Linked DNA regions of Homo sapiens: regions 1 and 2 are each linked to region 3. The links are contacts of gene promoters, found by promoter capture Hi-C in human tissues and cell types (Jung and others, 2019). All regions are on one chromosome and are shown on one strand. Each heading gives the region's core, a stretch centred on a gene start or on the middle of the fragment in contact. The rest is flanking DNA. Distances are from core to core; before and after follow the strand shown.

The links. Contacts are between HindIII fragments. The study calls those that stand out against the background at their distance.
Region 1: a contact is called between a fragment that was not itself captured here and the fragment with the promoter of POLR3H in region 3, in 1 of the 25 tissues and cell types used here (liver).
Region 2: a contact is called between a fragment that was not itself captured here and the fragment with the promoter of POLR3H in region 3, in 1 of the 25 tissues and cell types used here (spleen).

The regions. Positions count from the first base shown.
Region 1 is chr22:41,844,477-41,847,176 of GRCh38, forward strand. All of the region lies in intron 1 of SREBF2 (sterol regulatory element binding transcription factor 2), which reads left to right. Among named protein-coding and RNA genes, the nearest start is that of SREBF2-AS1, 11 kb to the left of the region's middle. RefSeq lists an enhancer at 1,988-2,700. The HindIII fragment of the contact is 6,451 bases long and covers 1-2,700 here.
Region 2 is chr22:41,163,914-41,166,613 of GRCh38, forward strand. It overlaps EP300 (EP300 lysine acetyltransferase), which reads left to right. Exons shown (of 31, transcript NM_001429.4): 22 at 140-217; 23 at 2,686-2,700. Among named protein-coding and RNA genes, the nearest start is that of EP300-AS1, 32 kb to the right of the region's middle. The HindIII fragment of the contact is 6,950 bases long and covers 1-2,700 here.
Region 3 is chr22:41,543,049-41,545,748 of GRCh38, forward strand. POLR3H (RNA polymerase III subunit H) reads right to left here and starts at 1,422. Exons shown (of 6, transcript NM_001018050.4): 1 at 943-1,422. The coding sequence starts at 1,053. RefSeq lists enhancers at 783-1,620, 943-1,042, 1,053-1,142 and silencers at 1,193-1,322, 1,513-1,612. The HindIII fragment of the contact is 26,348 bases long and covers 1-2,700 here.

The DNA of each region.
Region 1 (2,700 bases), core at 195-2,694, 300 kb after region 3:
GACATGATGGAATTTTTTAGAGTAGCAGAATCCCAGAGCCTGTGCCTTAAGGTAAGGCTCCCTGGGGAACTTTGTTTAGAAATGAATCCTAAACTATCGAAGGGCTTGCAAACTAGAAAATTTCTGCATATCTCAGGCCTTGAGAATTGCTAATGGATATGTATCTAAATGTCCCTTACAAGCTTGCTCCTCCACGTGGCCCTGTGGAACAGGTCTGTTGGGTTCAGGATCTAGTTTGGAACAGTGATGAAATTTCGAGCTGCTGAACCAGATATGGAACTGCTTTGCTAACCTGGTGTCTGCCCAGCTTAAGCCCCCTCCATCCCACAGCTGTGAAAGGAAATCATGCTTCTTCCCAAGTGCTAACATTCCTGTGAGGCCTTACACTTTACCCAAGTCCTCCTGATACATTTGTCTTCCTAATAAGTGCTATAAAATTGAGGCTTGATTTCCACCCCCACCCCCCACCCCCACAAGAGTCCTGCTCTGTCGCCCAGGCTAGGGTGCAGTGGCACGATCTCTGCTCACTGCGACCTCTGCCTCCTGGGTTCAAGCAATTCTCCTGTCTCCTGTAATCCCGAGTAGCTGGGATTACAGGTGTGTGCCACTATGCCAGGCTAATTTTTGTATTTTTAGTAAAGATGAGGTTTCAACATGTTGGCCATGCTGGTCTTGAACTCCTTACCTCGTGATCCACCTGCCTTGGCCTCCCAAAGTGCTGCGATTACAGGTGTGAGCCACTGCGCCTGCCCATGGCTTGATTTTTATGCCCATTTTCCATGGACATAGATGAAGGCACTGAGACAGAGAAATTAGATGATTTGCCAATGCTTCCTATGCTGATGACGGGGAATGAACTTGGATTTTCTGATGTGGGATTCCATATTCTTCGCTGTCCTATGAAAATGAGGTGGGAGATGCCTTGATTCAGGAAGCCTGTCTGTCTAGGAGCCCCTTCTCTGGTCAAAAGTTGTTTTTAAAAAATCCTTGCTGCATTTCAACGTGAATGAGTATCCACTGTATTCATAGCACAGTGCTAGAAGCTGTTAGAGTTGAATGAAATGGCCTCTGCTTTCAGGGAGCTAACATGTAAACATCCAGTCATAATACATGGGAAAATACAACAGAGGCTATAACAGAGGAACAACTCTAAATCTTTGGAGGACTGAGGAAGGGAATTAGAAAAATCTTCACAAGGACTTTGGCATTTGGGCTGAATTGTGAAGGGTGAGTAAATAGGATTTTAGAAGGTAAAGGAGCAGGCATGGTGTTTATTTAGATAGATTTAGACAAAGTTGGGAATAATTTGGCATGCTCTAGGAATATGTGTGTCAGAGTACTGCATAGGACAGAGGTTCTCAAACTTGAATGTGTCTATGAACTCCCAGGGTATACCCCCAAAGATCTGAATGTGGAAGGTCTGGGATGTTGTCCAACAGGAACACCTAACTAGTGGAGGGGGCAGGATCAGAGGAGCCTTCTCAGGGATAAGCTGAGGTCTTAAAGGGGTGGAAGGAGAGAGCAGCTGTGTTCCAGGCTGAGTGAACAGCCATTTTGAAGGGCTTGACCAGTGCTGGTGCTCGAGTGTCTGGGTTTTGTGTAGACCACACTCTTGATAACTGTGCTGTTCGTTATCTTCCACAAACAGGGTTTTGGTCAGGTGCCTCCTTGCTTCAGTGTGTTCTTTATCAGTCAGGATTCTTGGTGATAAGCAGCAGAAACCGCTTCTATCTAGCTTGAACAGAAAAGGATTTGTTAGAAGGGTGGTTCTTGGAGTGACTAGAAAAGCTGGAGAGCCAATTTGGAAAATGGGCCAGAACCAAGGAGGCTCCTGCTTAGTACTCCTCCGCCTTCATGATCTGTATATTGTCTCTGCTTTCCTGGGTCATTCCCTCAAGGGTCGCACTCCTGGTGGGAGGATGCATTAATCAGAGCTGACTGGCAGGAAACCTTCCCTCACATGAGGACTGCCCAATGGGGATTCTCCAAAGGAAGATCAGGGTGCTAATGGGAGGGTCGGGTCTGATGATGGACAAATGGAACAAAAGTGGCAAATGCCCACCATGTATTCTGTGCCTTTCCTTGCCTCTGAAATAAAAGCAGTTTCTGCCGCCAAATATACATGGTAGCATTAAGTCAGGCCTTTCACAGGCAGCTCCATCTCTCCATTTTGCACCGTGCTGTCTCTACTTCAGCAGCTGGCAGGACATTTCCTGATACTGTGGTTTTGCTCAAACTATTTCCTTTGCCTGGAATACCCTTCCCTCTCTCTAATTTATAAACCCTTTTCATCCGTTAAGCTCGGTTTTCACTGCCTGCCAGGATGGATCAGTCCTTTCTCTGCTCTCTGACAGCCCTTTCTTTGTGAGGCACTTGTCTGTTCTTGCCCTTGTCGCAGTTTATGGAGTTGGTTAGGTTTCTCTTTCTTCTCTGTGAGCATGGGAGATGGGAAGAAAACGAATACTTTTCAGTCTTTGCCCTGTGCGGAGTTCCACACAAGGCACATAGGATCCTCCAGCTCCCAGCCCAGAGTACATAGTGTATGCAAATTTGAGTGGATGTTTGTATTTGTAGCGTGATTTGATAACCTGCTTTGCAAGTATTCTTTTTCTCTTTAGTTTTAGGGAGATTTGGGGGCATGGTAATGGATGGAAGGGTAAGATGGTGGGATGTTGGGGTCTTTCATTTTTGCCTGAATGG
Region 2 (2,700 bases), core at 201-2,700, 380 kb before region 3:
AAATAGAAACTTTATTAAAACTATTTTCAGTTCTTTGGTCATGACCTTGGCTGTCTTTGTCAGAAGTCATGGGAAATATTGCAAGTTTTCATTTGGTTAAGGTTTGGGGTTAATTTTGGAATTGGCTCTGCTCTTCCAGGTTTGTTGAATGTACAGAGTGCGGAAGAAAGATGCATCAGATCTGTGTCCTTCACCATGAGATCATCTGGCCTGCTGGGTAAGTCTTAACGTTGTTACTTTCTCTGGAATTTTTCTTTATCGTGAATATTAACAAGTTTTTTATTCTATGCAATTGACTGTATTATATCTTCAAAGTTACTATCTTTAAATTGTTTTCTTTGGGTTTGGCCACGATAATTATAGTTCGCTTTTTAAAAATTAAGTAACCTAGTATCCAAAAATAGATTTTTATCTTATTTTTATGCATTCTTCTTAGCCATATAAATATATTTTATTCTGCTGGATTGTTTATTAAAATTATATTGTAGTTATTACACATCAAAAGTAAATATTTATGGCCAGGCGAGGTGGCTCACGCCTGTAATCCCAGCACTTTGGGAGGCCGAGGCGGGCGGATCACCTGAGGACAGGGGTTCCAGACCAGCCTGACCAACATGGCAAAACCTCGTGTCTACTGAAAATACAAAAATTAGCCTGGCGTGGTGGTGCACGCCTGTAATCCAGCTACTCAGGAGGGAGGCTGAGGGAAGAGAATCACTTGAACCTGTGAGGGGGAGGTTGCAGTGAGCTGAGATCACGCCACTGCACTCCAGCCTGGGTGACAGAGTGAGACTCTGTCTCAAAGAAAAAAGTAAATGCTTTTGTTCCGGCATCTAGAAACTAGGATCATGCTGCTGGCATGAATAGGTCTGGCCCTGGTAAGGGTCACCATTTGGTTAGGGCAGGAACAGCAAGTTATAAGGCTGCAGTCATAGTGTAATTGCCTAGTAAAAGGGAGGGGCCATCGCTCTGTACAAGAGGAACTAATCCCAGCCATGTTCCAAAGGAAGCGGGTATATGGGACATCCAGTGCCTCTCATTAAGATGGGATCTCCATCTCTTCTGCTCTGTTCTTGGGCTGATTGTTGTTCCTGATTTGGAGGTTACAAGAAAGGGCAGGCTAATTGACAGATTTCACTTTTCTTTTTTTCACCGTTATTTTCACATAGAAAATAACACTAAGGAAAATAGGTGATGGTTTAGTGGATACTTTATTTTCAGTGTGACTTGTCTTTTAAGTGTGCCTTTTTAGTGCTTTCCTTAACAGATTTCGTAAGAATGATTAAGAGACTTCTTGTGGTTCTTCTAATTTAGGATCAGTCAACTGAATGAAAATAATCTGTTATTACTGTGTTAAGCTTGCTTTTTCTTAAAAGTAATTTATGTTCATTATAAAATTTGAATAGTATGACAGTTTATGAAGTAAAAAGCGACGGTCTCAGCTTCTCTCTTCCCACCCAGATTCCTCACTACAGGAATAACACTCTTTTGTACATACAATCATACATTTTCTTTTTTTCTTTTTTTGAGACAGAGTTTCGCTCTTGTTGCCCAGGCTGGAGTGCAGTGGCGCGATCTCGGCTCACTGCAACCTCTGCCTCCCAGGTTCAAGTGATTCTCCTGCCTCAGCCTCCCTAGTAGCTGGGATTATAGGTGTGTGCCACCATGCCCGGCTAATTTTTGTATTTTGGTAGAGACAGGGTTTCATCATATTGGTCAGGCTGGTCTTGAACTCCCGACCTCAGGTGATCCACCCACCTCGGCCTCCCGAAGTGCTGGGATTACAGCATGAGCCACTGCACCTGGCACATTTTCTTGATTTATGTGTATTTAATTTTTAATTTTTGTATTTTGTTATAAGTCATAGACTTTTTTAATTGAGTCTCACTTTCATCACCCAGGCTGGAGTGCAATGGTGTGATCTCAGCTCACTGCAACCTCCACCTCCTGGGTTCAGGCAATTCTCCTGCCTCAGCCTCTCCTGCCTCAGCCTCTCGAGTAGCTGGGATTACAGGCACATACCACCATGTCTGACCAATTCTTGTATTTTTACTAGAGACAGGGTTTCATTATGTTGGTCAGGGTGGTCTTGAACTCCTGACCTCAAAAGATCCACCCACCTCGACCTCCCAAAGTACTGGGATTACAGGCGGGAGCCACCACGCCTGGCTGGTCATAGACACTCATTTATGTCTGCTGCATTTTTAATGGATGCATAGTATTCTGTAACATACTATAATCCATTTATTTACTTGGTTGATGAACAAGTTTATACAAGAAACTACTTAGGAGACAAATATCATGTGCATTTGCAGTAGCTGAATCTATTGGTTCTACTCTCAAAATGTACTTTCCAACTAGTAGCATATAGGAAATGTCACCTCTTAGGATTTTTCTCCCCTATCACATTAGCAAAACCTATCTTGATTTGTAATCCTTGATCATCTTTTCCTGTGTAAACCAATTTATATGCCCTTCATGTTTCTTCATGTCTGTTGCTTGATTTTCAATTATCTTTTTTATTCTTACTGATTTCTAAAAGCTCTTTGTGTATTAGTTTTATTAACTCTTCATTAGAAATTTAGAAATACTTCTGCTAGATTGTCTTTTGAATTTTAACTTTTTGTTAGTATAAATTCAACGGTTTATCTAAGTTGTGTAAGCAAAGTTTTGGTTTACATTTAGATTCGTCTGTGATGG
Region 3 (2,700 bases), core at 172-2,671:
GCCAGGCTTTGGCTAAATGAGGGGATACTTCAGGGAAGAAGGCAGATAAGGTCCCTGCTCTCAAGGAGAGGGAAAGGAAAAAGTCTAAGAAGGAAAGAGAGTGATGTGACACAGAATACCTGGAAAGGGAGGACTGTCAAAGAAACGGCAGTGGGAAGACCTCTCAGCTGGTACTAAGGCACACAGGCACAGCACAGAGAAGGCGCACAAATATTGGCTGCTGGAATGAAGGGATGAACCTCCTGACAGTTAATTCTGTACTACTAGAACTCTCCATCTTCACGAAAACAATGCATTGACCCGAGGCGATGGCGCACACCTGTAATCCCAGCACTTTGGGAGGCCGAGGCGGGGGGATCAAGAGATCGAGACCATCCTGGCCAAAATGGTGAAACCCCGTCTCTACGAAAAATACAAAAATTAGCTGGGGGTGGTGGCGCGCGCCTGTAGTTGTCCCAGCTACTCGGGAGGCTGGGGCAGGAGAATCGCTTGAACCCGGGAGGCGGAGGTTGCAGTGAGCCGAGATCGCGCCACTGCACTCCAGCCTGGACGAAAGAGCAAGACTCCGTCTCAAAAACAAAAAACAAAACAAAACAAAACAAACAACAACAACAACAAAAACAATGCATGGCTGGAAGGACAGCAATATTTTATCCCCATTTTAAAAATGGAAACTGAGGCCCAGAAGGGGTCAGTAACTTGCCTGCAATTGCAAAGTAATTTAGAATTGTGGAATCTAACACTTCCAGTTACAACTCCCTTTTTCAAGCCCATTTTCTTTTGATCCCCTTCAATATCTCCTTTCACGGTGAAGAAAAGTTCTGAGACATTAAGCTGCTTGCCCACGGCCAGGGCTTGGCATGACCGAGGCCGGGCCTGCGGCCAGTGGGCGGCGCTCGCTCTCCCACGCCAAGGCCTGCCCGCGAGCCGTGGGCCCAGTACCTTGTTGGCCAACTTCTTGTTCAGCTCCTCGGCAATGGAGTCGTTGAGCTTCCTCTCAAACTGCCAAGGGGGGATCCGGACGGTGTCCACCATTTCCACCAGGACGAACATCCCGGCCTGCGCTGGGGGCTCTGGGAACAGGAGGGTCAGTCACGCACCAGGGCCGGGGGCAGGGAGAATCCCCGAGCCCCTTGGTCCCGTCCCAGTCGCTGAGGCCCCCAGGCTGGCGGTGAGGTTGCACGGGGCGGTCTCGGGGGCCCGGTCCGGGCCATGCTCCGCTACTACAACATGAGGAAACTGAGGCCAGAGGGAGGCACTCTCCGTCCACAGCTCCGGGTGCGCGCCCGCGCCGCGAGACCCCGCCACGCCACGCCACTCCACGCCACGCCACTCCACGCCCCGCACCCGCGCCACGTGCCGCCGCTCGTATCACGCACCACGCACCACGCACCGCGCACAGCCGCTCGCGCTTGCGCGACTGCGGGCGAGATTCCGAATCCATCGCTTCCGGAAAACTCACCAATAAGAAACCTCTGTCCACCCCCACCCCGCCGAGGCGGGGCGGGGCTGCCTGTGTGCTCGCGCACAGCGTGGGGCAGAGAGAGGGCGAGGAGAGGGCGGGGCCTCCTCCTTTCACAGGAGCAGAGCGGTTCCCCCGCCCCCGACAGCGCTTTCTGTTGCTAGGCGACCTCCGTGCAATCCCGCCTGATTATCCCTCGCCTGGCCTGTGCTTTACCCGCATTGCTGTCCTCTGCTCGGCAGCCAGAGTGATCCTTTGGAAACGCAAACATATATTACCACATCTAAGTTAAAAAAAAAACCCACCGCAAACATAACATGCTTAGCACCCTTAAGTGTTCCGGAGACAAGGAGAATTAGCAGGAAAGGGGCACTTGGGACTGTTCTGAGATGATGGAAATGTTCTGTATTTTGTTTTCGGTGGTATAACATTGACGTATATAATTGTCCAAACTAATTGAACTCGGCAAGATTTTTGCATTTATTTGTAGACATTATGTTCCAATTGAAAAGTTATAATAAATTGGAACAAAAAACACAACCCATTGAACTTAGAATACTAGATCCAAGCCGGGCGTGGTGGTGTACACCCGTAGTCCCACCTACTCAGAAGCCTGAGACAGCAGCATCGCTTGAGTCCAGGAGTTTGAGGTTGCAGTTTGAGGTTGCATGCTGCACTCTAGCATGGGTGACAGTGACACCTCATGTCTAAACGAAAAAGAAGAAGAAGGAGAGGCGGAAGAAGAAGAAAGAAGAAGGAGAAGAAGAAGAAGAAAGAAGAAAGAAAAGGGAAAGAAGAAAGAAAAGAAGAAAGAAAGAAGAAAAGTCCAAAACCTTTATGGTAGTTCACACGGCCCTGCAAGATCTGACCATACCCCCCTCCTATAGCCCCATCATGCTCTGTCTCGCTGACATTCCAGTCTCATTCATCTTCACGTGATAGCATGGGCTAAGAGAATTTGGTAGCTTACCCAAGATCACGTGTTGACAAGTGGTAGAGGTGGGCCCAGTCTGAACCTCACTACCCTGCCTCTAAAAATTGGTGGGGTGTAGATGTATACTGTAGTGGGTTTTTTTGTTTGTTTGTTTGTTTGAGACGGAGGATCGCTCTGTCGCCCAGGCTGGAGTGCAGTGGCGCGATCTTGGCTCACTGCAAGCTCCGCCTCTCGGGTTCACGCCATTCTCCTGCCTTAGCCTCCCGAGTAGCTGAGACTACAGGCGCCCACCATCACGCCTGGC